3 separate regions of the Homo sapiens genome follow, and regions 1 and 2 are each linked to region 3. The links are contacts of gene promoters, found by promoter capture Hi-C in blood cells and fetal thymus (Javierre and others, 2016). All regions are on one chromosome and are shown on one strand. The core of a region is centred on a gene start or on the middle of the fragment in contact, and the rest is flanking DNA. Distances in the headings are between cores, read along the strand shown. Region 1 has its middle 36 kb from the start of TRAM1L1. Region 2 has its middle 58 kb from the start of TRAM1L1. Region 3 holds the start of NDST3 (N-deacetylase and N-sulfotransferase 3).

What was found. Contacts are between HindIII fragments. The CHiCAGO score rates a contact against its expected background, and 5 or more counts as called.
Region 1: a fragment that was not itself captured here is called in contact with the fragment with the promoter of NDST3 in region 3 in 1 of 17 cell types (megakaryocytes); the score reaches 6.5 in megakaryocytes.
Region 2: a contact is called between a fragment that was not itself captured here and the fragment with the promoter of NDST3 in region 3, in 1 of 17 cell types (megakaryocytes). The highest score is 5.4, in megakaryocytes.

Annotation. Positions count from the first base shown.
Region 1 is chr4:117,119,687-117,124,166 of GRCh38, forward strand. No RefSeq gene overlaps it. Among named protein-coding and RNA genes, the nearest start is that of TRAM1L1, 36 kb to the left of the region's middle. RefSeq lists an enhancer at 4,158-4,480. The HindIII fragment of the contact is 749 bases long and covers 2,034-2,782 here.
Region 2 is chr4:117,141,449-117,145,762 of GRCh38, forward strand. No RefSeq gene overlaps it. Among named protein-coding and RNA genes, the nearest start is that of TRAM1L1, 58 kb to the left of the region's middle. The HindIII fragment of the contact is 2,127 bases long and covers 934-3,060 here.
Region 3 is chr4:118,032,046-118,036,362 of GRCh38, forward strand. NDST3 (N-deacetylase and N-sulfotransferase 3) reads left to right here and starts at 2,441. Exons shown (of 14, transcript NM_004784.3): 1 at 2,441-2,547. The HindIII fragment of the contact is 5,573 bases long and covers 1-2,751 here.

The DNA.
Region 1 (4,480 bases), core at 1,158-3,657, 910 kb before region 3:
TCCCTAGTAGAAAGAACAGCTTCCCATCCCCCTTCTTTTGCAATATATCTTCTCTGCACATACCCAGACTCCCCTGTGTGAGCCCACAGAGTATAATAACATGATACATGTGCAGGCTGGATGTACCATTGGTGCATTTTCCATAATGCCTCACATGTGTCCAAGACCTACATGCACTATTCACTGTGTTTTGTTTTTTCTGTTTCTCTGCTCTGGGGTATAAAGGTATGGTTGAAAATGTCAAAACGGGCTGCAGATATCCCTATGGGTAACAGTGATAAAGAAAAAAAGGAAGCATTTTTGTTTATCTACATCACGGAAAGTCAAGCTGTTGAAGAAACTGAACAGTAGTGTAAGCATGAAACATCTCACAGAAAAGTATAATGTTGGAATGACCATCATATATGACCTGAAGAAACAGAGGATAAACTGTTGAATTTCTTTGCTAAAAGTGATGAACAGAAGTCAGTGAAAAATAGAAAAACACTGCATAAAACTAAAACTGGAGATCTTGAGAGTGTATTGAAAGAATGAATTGGTCAGCATCACAGTGGACACCAGCACTTGATGGTAAGCTGATTATAAAACAAGCAAATATCTAATTGAAGAGAAATTTGAATATTCATCAGACTGGTTGAAGAAATGTAAGAAAAAACATGGCATTAAATTTTGAAAGATTTGGGATAATAAAACATCTACTGATCCTGAAGCAGCAGAGAAATTCATTGATGAGTTTGCTAAGGTCATCACTGATGAAAATCTGACACTAGAACAAGTCAATAAAACTGATGAAACACCACTTTTTTGGTGTTATTGTCTCAGAAAGATACTGATTACAGCTGATGAGAAAAAGCCAACAGAAATGAAGAATGCCAAAAATAGAATAACTATGCTGGGATGTGCTAATGCAACAGGCATGCATGAGGGTAAACGTGCTGTGATAGGCAAAAGCTTGGGTCCTCAAAATTTTCAGAGAATAAGTTTCTTTTTTTGTTTTTTACACCTCCTAGGTTCAAGCGATTCTCCTGCCTCAGCCTCCCAAGTAGCTGGGATTACAGGTGTGCACCATGCCCAGTTAATTTTTGTATTCTTAGTAGTGATGGGGTTTCACCATGTTGGTCAGGCTGGTCTTGAACTCCTGACCTCAAGTGACCTACCCACCTCGGCCTCCCAAAGTGCTGGGATTACAGGCATGAGCCAAGGTGCCCAGCCAAGTTTCTTGACAGTCCATTGTTATGCTAACAAAAAGGCAAGATCACTAGAGAAATTTTGTCTGATTAGTTTCACAAACATTTGATAACAGTCTTGTGCTTACTGCAGGAAAGTTAGATTAAATAACTGTAAGGTTCTGTTATTACTTCTCATCAAAAATAATGTTTATGCCATGCACCTTCTTTCAAATTCAGCCATGTGACCAGGGTATCATTAGATTGATTAAATAAGGAAACACTTTCTTGAACAACATGATAGCATCAGTGAACAGAGGCATGGTGTGGAAAGTTTTTGAAATTTTTTTTTTTTTTGAGACAGAGTCTAGCTCTGTCACCCAGGCTGGAGTGCCGTGGCATGATCTTGGCTCACTGCAACCACCGCCTCCCAGGTTCAAGCAATTCTCCTGCCTCAGCCTCCCGAGTAGCCGGGACTACAGACGCCCACCACCACACCCAGCTAATTTTTGTATTTTTAGTTGAAACTGGGTATCACCATATTGACCAGGCTGGACTGGAACTCCTGACCTTGTGATCTGCCCACCTTGGCCTCCCAAAGTGCTGGGATTATAGGTGTAAGCCACCACTCCTGGCCTTGGAATGATTTTAACAAGACAAATGTGATATATTCTGTTGGCAATGCTTAGAACACAGTGATTAAAAACACAATTGTTCATGTCTTGCTCAACCTCTGACCTGTGACTAAATTCAGTGATAATTATGAACAAGGTAGTGACTTTTTAGGATTTCATACATCAAGTGAGAGTAAAAATGATGTCTGACCTTTTATATATGCAAAAAATATAGCTTCAGAATCCATCAGTAAGCTTGAAGATGTGGATATCAAAAAAAATTTTAACATTAGAAATTAAGCTCCAGTGGTTTATTCATTGACTAATCAAAAATAGTCAAAATGATTATGAATCAAGGTGATCATGATAATAGCCATGATGAAGACGATGATGTTAAAACTGCGGTAAAAGTATAAATGACGTCAAAACGTGTAATGGGCTCCTTAAGAAATAGAGCTGCATGCATTCATATCAAAACAAAAATATGTCAATTTATAAATCAAAGAGAGACTTCTAAGGAAAACTGTTATTAATGAGGCAGATGATTCTGGAAGAAACATTTTAAAAAGCCATCCAGGAGCATGGATCCTCATGCCTAGAAGACTCACTTTCTGGTCCCTCGACTTCATCTGATGTTTTTTCTCACCTAAAAAATTAAAATAATATATAACGTACATAAACCTTTTAAATTAAAACACTGCATTATACGTAGGAACTAAAAGCCTGGCTTGTTTGTTGTTGCTGTTAACAGCTGATCTAAGTATTCTGGTGATGCTGCTGTGTTGCTTAGCTACCCGGAAGACAAATTTTCACTTTATTAATTGTATGCCTTTTTTTAACTGTTAATTACTTATCTGTAAATAAGTATATGAAAATGATCACTCATGAATAGCACATAAGTTCAAAGTCAGGAATGATGTTGATGCTTAAAAAAACCACAGATTGTCTACATGGGTGGTGAATATAGTGAAACCTTTGCTCTCTGATGGTTCTATGTACACAAGCTTTATTTCATGCACACAATTACTAAAACTTTTATATAAAATTACCTCTAGGCTATATGCATAAGAAATATAAATGAGCTTTATATTTAGGCTTAGATCTCACCTCTAAGATTCTCATTATGTACATGAAAATATTCTGAAAACCAAAAAATCTGAAATACAAAACACTTCTGGTCTCAAGCATTTCAGGTAAAGGATACTCAAACTGTACCATTAAAAACAAATATAACATTAATTTGTTGTACACTTGGAGTGATGTAGCCTATATCCTACCTACAGTGAATATTTTAGCCATATATAAGATATTAAAAATGTATTTCTTGAAATTATTATTTAAATTATAGAGGCAAGTGTATTTTACTTTGGATGAAACAGGGAGATTTATCTTTATTATCTTAAATAGGCTTTTCCTAGTTTTGTAATTTCAACTTTTTTCTAAAGTTATTTATGAGTAATTCACTGTGTTTATGCATTTAAAAATCTTTGACTTATAGAATCTTGGCTTCCTGGAATTTTTTTTTTTTTTTTTTTTTTTTTTTTTTTTTTTTTTTTGAGAAAGAGTCTCATGCTGTTGCCCAGGCTGGAGTGCAGTGGCTCAATCTCGGCTCACTGCAAGCTCCGCCTCCCAGGTTCACGCCATTCTCCTGCCTCAGCCTCCCAAGTAGCTGGGACTACAGGCACCTGCCACCATACCTGGCTAATTTTTTGTAGTTTTTTAGTAGAGATGGGGTTTCGGTGTTAGCCAGGATGGTCTCTATCTCCTGACCTCGTGATCTGCTCGCTTCAGCCTCCCAAAGTGCTGGGATTACAGGAGTGAGCCACTGTGCCCGGCCCTATTTTTTTTTTACTGACCACATTTTAGAAGTTTTATTTTTCTTCTGCAATTCTGGTAGGCCTTTCCTAATTAGCTATATCAGAAGTCATAGTAAACCTATAATATGGAAAGAAGATAAAAATATTAACTAACTGTTGTGAGAAGTCAGGGATGCCAAACAGAGGGACCAGCTGAAGCCATGGCAGAAGAACGTGGATTGAGAAGATTTTATGGACATTTATTAGTTCCCCAAATTAATACTTGTGTAATTTCTTATGACTGTCTTTACTGAGTCTCTAAACATAAATTGTAAAGATTTCATGGACACTTATCACTTCCCCAATCAATACCCTTGTGATTTCCTATGCCTGTCTTTACTTTAATCTCTTAATCCTGTCAGCCGAGGAGGATGTATGTCACCTCAGGACCATGTGATAATTGCATTAACTGCACAAATTGTAGAGCATGTGTGTTTAAACAATATGAAATCTGGGCACCTTGAAAAAAGAACAAGATAACAGCAATGTTTAGGAAACAAGAGAGATAACCTTAAACTCTGACCGCCAGTGAGCCGGGCAGAACAGAGCCATATTTCTCTTCTTTCAAAAGCAAATGGAAGAAGTATCGCTGAATTCTTTTTCTCAGCATGGAACATCCCTGAGAAAGAGAATAAGCGCCTGGAGGTATCAGCTTATAAACAGCCCACCTGGGTGTGGCCTGTCTCTTATGGTTGAGACTGCAGGGGTGAAATAGACTCCAGTCTCCCATAGCGCTCCCAGGCTTATTAGGAAGAGGAAATTCCCGCCTAATAAATTTTGGTCAAACCGGTTGATCTCAAAACCCTGTCTCCTGATAAGATGTTATCAATGACAATGGTGCCCG
Region 2 (4,314 bases), core at 747-3,246, 890 kb before region 3:
TGGCTATCATGAAAAATCAAAAGATAGCAAGTGTTGGCAAGGGTGTGGAGAAAAGGGAGTCATTACACAGCAATGGTTGGACTGTAAATTAGTACAGTCATTCTGGAAAATAGCGAGGAGTTTCCACAAAAGATTAAAAATAGAACTACTGTATGTTCCCAGCAATTTAACTACTGAGTATATGTCCAAAGGAAATGAAATCAGTGTGTCAAGAGGGTATTTGTATTCATGTTTACTGCAGCACTATTCACAATAACCAAGATCTGCAATCAACTTGTTCATCAACCGATAAGTGGATAAAGAAAATGTGATGTGGTGTATGTCTACACATATACACAATAGACTACTATTCAGCCACAAGAAATTCTAAAATCCTGTCATTTGTGGCAATATGCACAAACTCGGAGGACATTATGCTAAGCGAAATAAGCTAGGCACAGAAAGACAAATACCACATGATCTCACTCATATATGCAATCTAAAAAGTTGTTCTCATAGAAGTAGAGAGTAAAGTAATGATTACCAGAGGGTAAGGAGGGTGGGTGGAGGAGGAGAAAGATTGGTCAATAGGTACAAAGCTATGGTTAGATGGGAGGAATAAGTCATGGTGTTCTATTTCACAATAGAATAGAGTTAACAATAATGTATTGCATATTTCAAAATACCTAGGAGAGGTTTTTGAATGTTCTTGTTAAGAGAAATGATAAATGTTTCAGGTGATGGATATGGTAATTACCCTTATTTTATTATTATACAATGTATACATGTGTCAAAACTTCACGATACCTCATAAATATGTGCAATTAGGATGTCTCAATTGCAAATTCAAAAAAGTATCAATAAACCAAAAAGAACCATTCCATAATCATGTAAATTATAAAGCATGATTTAGAAAGAAAAAAGAAACAATACAATCAAATTGATGGTGAAGAAAGCTTTGCATAAAATACAATACTAAATAAATTGCAAGCCAAAATTAAAATATACAGCTTTGAAATTGAAGATTTTATTCAAATATTACCAAATTCAAAGCACAGATATAAGAGCTCAGGGAAGATATAATAGGCTAACAGATGAAGCAGACTCTTAGGTGAAGAAAATCAGAAAATAAATTAAAAATAAAATAAAACCAATAAAGAAATAGCAACATTTCTAGCAATAGTAAACATATAGTTTAACTTATATATATGTGTATATATACACAGATATATGTGTGTATATGTGTGTGTAGTTTATATATGTATATATACATATATGTGTGTACGTGTGTATTAATATAGTATGTATACACACATATGTATATATATGTTTGTATATGTATACACATACATACACACATATATACACACACATATATATACACACATATAATGAGTTTTGCTAAAAACATAGTAAGTCATAAAAAATTAAAATAAATTATCAAATTGTGATAAAACATTGAAAAATAATAAATACGGAGGACAAATAAAGATGAATGTACATTTCTAATTAATCCAAGTTAAGAAGAAATAAAACAAATGTTTCTGTAAAATATTCAAACAGCTTTTGATGTTAATCAATATGTTGAAAGAGTTCATCTTATAGTGTAAAATATATGGATTTTATAACCTTGAGACAAGTCTTCACAAAATTTCTTGGACTTCAAGTTATCCAAAGCAGCCATAAACAGTGCTCATAATCCACTACCACACACCAGGAAACCTCATTTTGATTGTACAAGTGCCTTTTCTGATTAATTGGTGCCTGTGCCATTCTGATATTTTTAGCATTTGTACATAAAGAGGGAAGAACATCAGGAATAAGAATTCTCTACTGCAATGACAGATACTTCAAAACAGTGGAGTTATATAATCTAAGGTCAAAGAAAGTTTAGAATGAAAAACACAATAAATCTAAGAAAAACAAGAGAGATAAATCACTAAGTTAGAAAACAATGGATAGGATATGAAAACAGAAAAATGGTAACAACAAAATAAGCTCAAGAATTTGGTCTTTGAATGTTCTAACATATAGCTATAATATTAGCTCATTTAATAAGAAAAAGAGAAACATGTATATACCAGTGAACTAATATTGGAGAAATAATATTCAGTGAAAGTTTTAAAACAAATTTTAAAACATAACTTTGCATAGTTTTATATGAATATATTTATAAAGGAGGTTTTCTAGAAAATATATACAGAGACAATTAAACAAAGAAGCAATAGACTTAAATGAATTTTTCTTATAGGAGAAATAGAAACAAAACTTTCAAAAGTTCCCTTTCATAGAAAGTATAAATTCTTCAATTTCATTTTTAACTTCCACCAAAACTGTAAGTAACTCATCACTCCAATGCTATTTCAAATGTCAGATCACAGAGAATAAGAACAATAAAAGGTCTTTGAAATACATTTTAGGTCTCCATCAAACTAATGACCACAGAACTGCAATGCTATTTCTCTGTCACAGAAAACTACAGTACAGACCAATCTCCCTTCTCCATATTTGAGAACTGTAACTATTATTCAATATTAATATTTCTCAATAAAATTTGTCATCATAATAAAAATAAACAAAAATATGGCTATTTATCAATTTAGGCTAAAGATGAGTTGAATAGAATTAACATCCATTAAAAAAGTTTGATATTTTACTCTTATTTTTCTCTCAGAACCCACATTCAAGATCTCCACAAATCCTGTCAGCTGTCAATTTTGACATCCCTCAATAACTGAACAATTTTTATTATATCCAACGCTTTTACTCTAGTCCAATTTATTATCACAACTTTTCTTGTTATTCCAAAAGCTCCTATAACCTTATCTTCTTATTTCTAATCTTGCATTCCTGGGGTCTATTGTCAAAATAGCATCCATATCAGAGCTTCACTCTGCTGAAATCTTCCAGTGGTATTTCATGTCACTCAGCATAACATCCAACACCCTTACTATGAATCAAAATGGCTGAAATGATCTATAACTCAAAAAGGCTGAAATCCCGAATGGAATTACTATCCTTACAAAAGAGGTCCAAGAGAGACCCTGTGCCCGTTTTGCCATGTGAGGACACACAGGGAGAAGCTTCTGTCTATGAATCAGAAAGCAGGCCCTCACCAGACACCAAATTTGGAGACATCTCTATCTCTCTGTTCTTACCTTGTACTAGTCTCCCCCATGCCTGTTGTGCCTCAGCTCTCCTGATCCTTGGGTTTTGATCATGTGTCCCTCCACCACGAGTTCTTCTCCCTGATATCCACATTTTCACGCCCTCAGTTTTCTTTTTCTCTAAAAGCACCATTAGGATTTCTCTATTTCTTTTTATAAAATAACAAACTTTCAATCACTGTGTTCATTTTCTGTTTTGTTCACTGCCGTATCTCCAGTACCTTACAAACAGAATAAAATACACTGATGTTCAATAACCATTTTTGATGAATAAGCAAATGAATATGAAAAAATGAGCAATATCTTTATGTATTGATATGCAATCTTGCCTTTACTATATTGTTAGATGCAAAAATATTTTGTAGAAAAACAAGTGCAATATGAGCTGATTTGGATAAAAATATACATACTATGTCAGTGTATAAAGTATAATGTCAATTTTATGTATATGTATATTGAATAAGTTTATGTGTACCTAAAAACATAGGCATATCTTTATATAACTGAAAGGAAGGAATGAAGGAAAAAAGGAAGGCGAAAAGATCTGGTGAGATCTAACCCAATCCAAACTGTAAACAGTAGTGGCCACTGGTAGATATGATTTAATGTTTGTATGTATGGGTGTGTATAGGCTGTGGTGGCAGGATATTATGAGATTTTTACTTTTCAATTTATATCATTATCTATTGTTTTACTACCATTCTCTACAATTTTCTACTTATTCTCTACCATTCTTGATTGCCTTTTAGTTTTCAAAAACAATTAATATTGTATTTTTAACACAGTTAAAATATAACAGTCTTTGTTGAGAGCTGCTATGGTCTCAATATTTGTGTTCCCCCCAAAATTCATAAATTGAAATTCTCATCCCCAAGGTGATGGTGTTAGGAGGTGGGGCCTTTGGGAGTTGATAAGGTCATGAGGGTGGAGCCCTCCTGAATGGTATTACTATCCTGACAAAAGAGTCCGAAGAGAGACCCCATGCCCCTTTTTGCCATGTGAGGAGAGAGAGAGAAGTTTCTGCCTATGAATAAGAAGGCAGGCCCTCACCAGACACCAAATTTGGAGACATCTTGATCGTGGACTTCCCAGCATCCAGAACTGTGAGAAGTAAATTTCTGGTGCTTATAAGATATCCAGACTATGGTATGTCTAGCAGGAAAAATGA
Region 3 (4,317 bases), core at 1,191-3,690:
TTTTAAAACACAATTCCAACTAACCCTTTCAGGACATTGGGTTCTAATTGAAGGTCTTGAACTACGAATCCAAATACCCTGATAAAGTTAATAAACAACCAGAATATTTAATTACTGTATCATCGTTTGTGTCTCTTTCAGTTTCAAGGGACAGCAAATGCAGTCCAAGCTGCCTTAAGACAAAAGTGAATGTGGCCAGTCGCGGTGGCTCAAGTCTGTAATCCCAGCACTTTGGGATGCCGAGGTGGGCGGATCTCGAGGTCAGTAAATCGAGACCATCCTGGCTTACACGGTGAAACCCCGTCTCTACCAAAATACAAAAAATTATCCGGGCCTGGTGGCGGGCTCCTATAGTCCCAGCTACTCGGGAGGCTGAGGCAGGAGAATGGTGGGAACCCGGGAGACGTAGCTTGCAGTGAGCTGAGATCACGCCACTGCACTCCAGCCTGGGCGACAGAGCGCGACTCCGAATCAAAAAAAAAAGTGAATGTATTTGTTTATGAATGAAAATATCCAGAGATAGAACTTATTTCAGCTACAGCTCGATTCCAAGCTCGAAAATCTCCATCTGGGTTTCACTTTTCTCCAACTCTCAGTTCTGCCTTCCTGAGTATCAGCTTTATTTTCAGACTTCAAGCTCTAAGCTCACATCTTCATTATGCAAAGTCCAGTAGAAGAGAGTCCACTTTCTTAAGAGAGGAAGGAAAAAAAAAAGTCCCAGAATGGTGGTTTTTTTCTGTTTTTCTCTCTGATTGGCCAGACCTGGGTTACATACCTACCCATGCTACCAGGACAGAAAGCCATCACTGGCCAGACCTGAGCTGTGGGTCTACCAGTGAGTCAGCAGCGGCTGACATCACCTAAAGCAAATGGGCTGCGGGGTGAGATCAAGTGGTTGGATCTTCCAAAATGAACAGGAGTACTGTTTCAACAAGAGTGAGTGCTGGGAAGCAAAACCACAAATGGCCAATACAAAGTATCATTAGTAGACCCCACTTAATACAATTCACATGTTAGTGGAACCAAATGAAATTTTTAAAAATATATATCATTCGATTCACACTTCTAATCAAACTATAGTTCTGGAGAGGGTAACCTCACACCTTGAATCCAAAATATCTCTTCAGTTGCTGGCCTTCCACTTGTCTTCAGGAGCTGAAACACATGGCATTTGAAAAAAACTGGCGAACAGAGGAAACTCTTGCAGCCTCGCAGCCGCCCTGGTCCAGTGCCAACGGCAGGAGCACCACAGGAAGGGACCGCGCGGGTGCGCCCCACCCTTCCAGCGTCGCCTCGGGGACTCGCACCCCTTTCCCTGGCCGCACAAGACGTTTCATCCTTGGCGGCCGCCGCCAACCCGCCGGGAGGGGCGGTCGGAACTGGCAGGCCGGGGCGGAACCCCCGGGGTCTCCTTGTCGAGGCCCGGGCAGCCAGATCCTCAGGGCCGGTCCGGGCGGGAGCCCGGTCGATGGAGGCGGCTCCCGTCCTCAGCTCCCGCTCCCTCCCCTTCCCCGGGGCGGGCGCGCGCGGGCCGGGAGCTGGGAGGCGGCGGCTCCCGCCCGGGAGGCGGTGGCGAGGGCGGCGGAGGCGCGGCCGGGCGGGTCCCAGGGCCGTGGTTCTCCAGCGCAGGAGTCCCCGGCGCACCCGCTGCGCTCGCCCCGCAGCCGCAGCCTGAGCGGCCGAAGTCGCCACCAGCTGTGTCCGCGCAGATCCCGGGCGCGGAGGGGAGAGGTCGCCCGCTTGTCGCCCCCGCCGGACCCCGGGCACCGCGTAGCACCCAAGCGCCACCCGGACGAGGGGCCCTGGGGAGCGGCTGAGGCCGAAGACCCGAGGGAAGGAGGAGCCCGCGGACGGCTGCAGCCCCAGGTAATCTCCATGGAGGACGGGGCCGGTCTCCTCGCCCAGAAACCCGATCCGGGCGCCTTGGAATGCGGACTCCAGAGGCGGCATCTCGACCAGACAAGTTTCTCGCGGCTTGGAATGAGGGAGTCCTGAAACCGACACTCGTTTTATTTAACCAGCTTTTTTCTCCTGTTTTAAATAAGTTTATTTAGACAATGGAAAGAAAAAAACAAACAGCCTCTTGAGTGACTGTGGGTTTGTAAATATAATCCTAAAAGTTTTTCATGGTGTGGTTATTTGCTTGCTCATATTTATTAACCTGTTAACTCTTCCGCTAGTCAGAAAATTGACATGTAAAATATTCTTTGAGGAACGTTACAAGTTTGCTGTTGTATTCGGGCATCCTGTTATTCATCAGCTTAGTTAGCATCTGTCTTCCCCCGAAGTGGTACCAAAGCCGGTCCCTTGGCGACGGGTCTTGCATGTGACACTCTTGCCCTCTAGTGCCTCACCAGCTTGGTAGCAGTTTGATGGCTAATATTAATAAGATGTTACATAACATGAGAGTACTGGGCCAGGACTGGTGTTGCTACCACTTGTAAAGTCAAAAAGCCTGAGCCGATGGTAACGAGTGGTACTGTTTCCGTTTCTTTTCCATCTATTGCAACTTTCTCAAGCATTTTCAGCTCTGAACTTTAATTCCAGGTAAGTGTATTTATTTATTTATACTGTGCATTAATGCCTCACTCATAAATGTAGGGGCTTTTAAGAGATAACAACTTTGCTTTCAAATAATCTAAAAATTTCAAGATTGAACAAGTGCTTCATTTTATTCTTGAAGAAGAAATATAGAGTATTTTGATTAAATTAAGTGAAACAAAGGACCGTCTCATTCAGGGATGATTTTAAAGCTTCCCTTTCATAAGATTATGGTACTAAAGAAATGACCTCTTGTAATTGTTTAAGATATTCACCAACTTATAATGATTCTGAAGTAGATCTGTTTAACAGAACACATGTCTGTTGCCTTGACAGAATTTTGTAAGGAATATCAGAGACTTTAAACTACCTGCCTATCTACACAGTAATGATCCTCAAAAGGCTTTCTATTTGATGCAGTTTATAGACATTATTTAAAACTATACAATTAATAAAATTAAATGGAAATGGAAAGAATCAATCTAGGTATCAAATACAGAAACTTTAAATTTAAAGAAAACAGATATATCTTCTATTTAATATATCCATTTTGTGGGGGCAGGTAAAAGCAAAGTTACATCTTTAAGGGGTTTACTCAGATCCTTTTTCAAATAGTTTTTCTAATAGCTGGATACTGTTTAAGCATCAGAGTTATTTAATGTCGAAAATGTATTAGTATCTATATTCTTTATAAACATATTGAAATATAGCAACATGTAATCTGGAAGAGTTTAGAAGAAAACCCTTCTAGACAATGCAAACAGCTACATTCTTAATACATTTGTATTAAATTAAAATACAAATCAAATATTGAGATGTGTGCAACTGATCTGGGACACACACTTTTTTTTTGTTTTTTTTTTTTGCCCTTAGAAAATTTCATGTTATCAACTACTGAGCAATGCTGTTCACCACCAGAGAGCAGGATGATATGGCAGAGAAACTCTAGAATATCCGATATTCAGCTGAAGGGAATTTTTTTCCCTTTTTCTTCATCCATACCTTCCTATCAATATTATATTTAAGATGGAGATTTCAAATATAAGTTTGAAGGAGGCTCCTTTTTAAAATAGTACTGAACATATAAAGAGGCTTGCCTAAGATAAGCTCTTTTTTTTCTTTCTCTGGTTAACACAGTATCTACCATTTCTAATTTTGTTATCATTTTTCTTTATCATCTTGATGGTAAAACAGAAGATTTGTTTCTTTGTGTAAATAATGTTAATTTTGAGCTTGTCACATGAGTTAATTTTCTTCATAGTCTTTAAAATGAAGAATTCTTACATTACTAAAATGTTTTAGATAAAATAAAACTTTTATCTCTTTCTGGAGATATTTGTTATAGTTTAGTTTGGTGGAGTTATATATACCCTCTTTTTAAATTAATTTTCTTGAGAAAAGCATTATTTCTGAACATTGAGGCAAATATTAATTTTTGGTGTAACTGAAAAGTTTGTTAAAAAATATATAGTAGAAGAGATAATCAGGCATTGGAGATTCTTTTTCTAAACCATATATTCTGCTAAAGAAGTTATTATAAGCTAAAATGTAAATATGTAATTGTCTACCTGTCATTTCAAAATTTTAAAACTGTAAAGAAATTACAATTTTTTTTCTTTTAATCTTGGGACTCTGATTATATGACTTCCTTGAAACCTGATTGAGTTTCAGCTGCTTTTTGGTGATTAGAGCCTTAAAAGTGCATTTGTTAAGATGCAAAATATATTTTTTTAAACTATATGTAAATACTTTGTGATTTATATACACTATAAAATC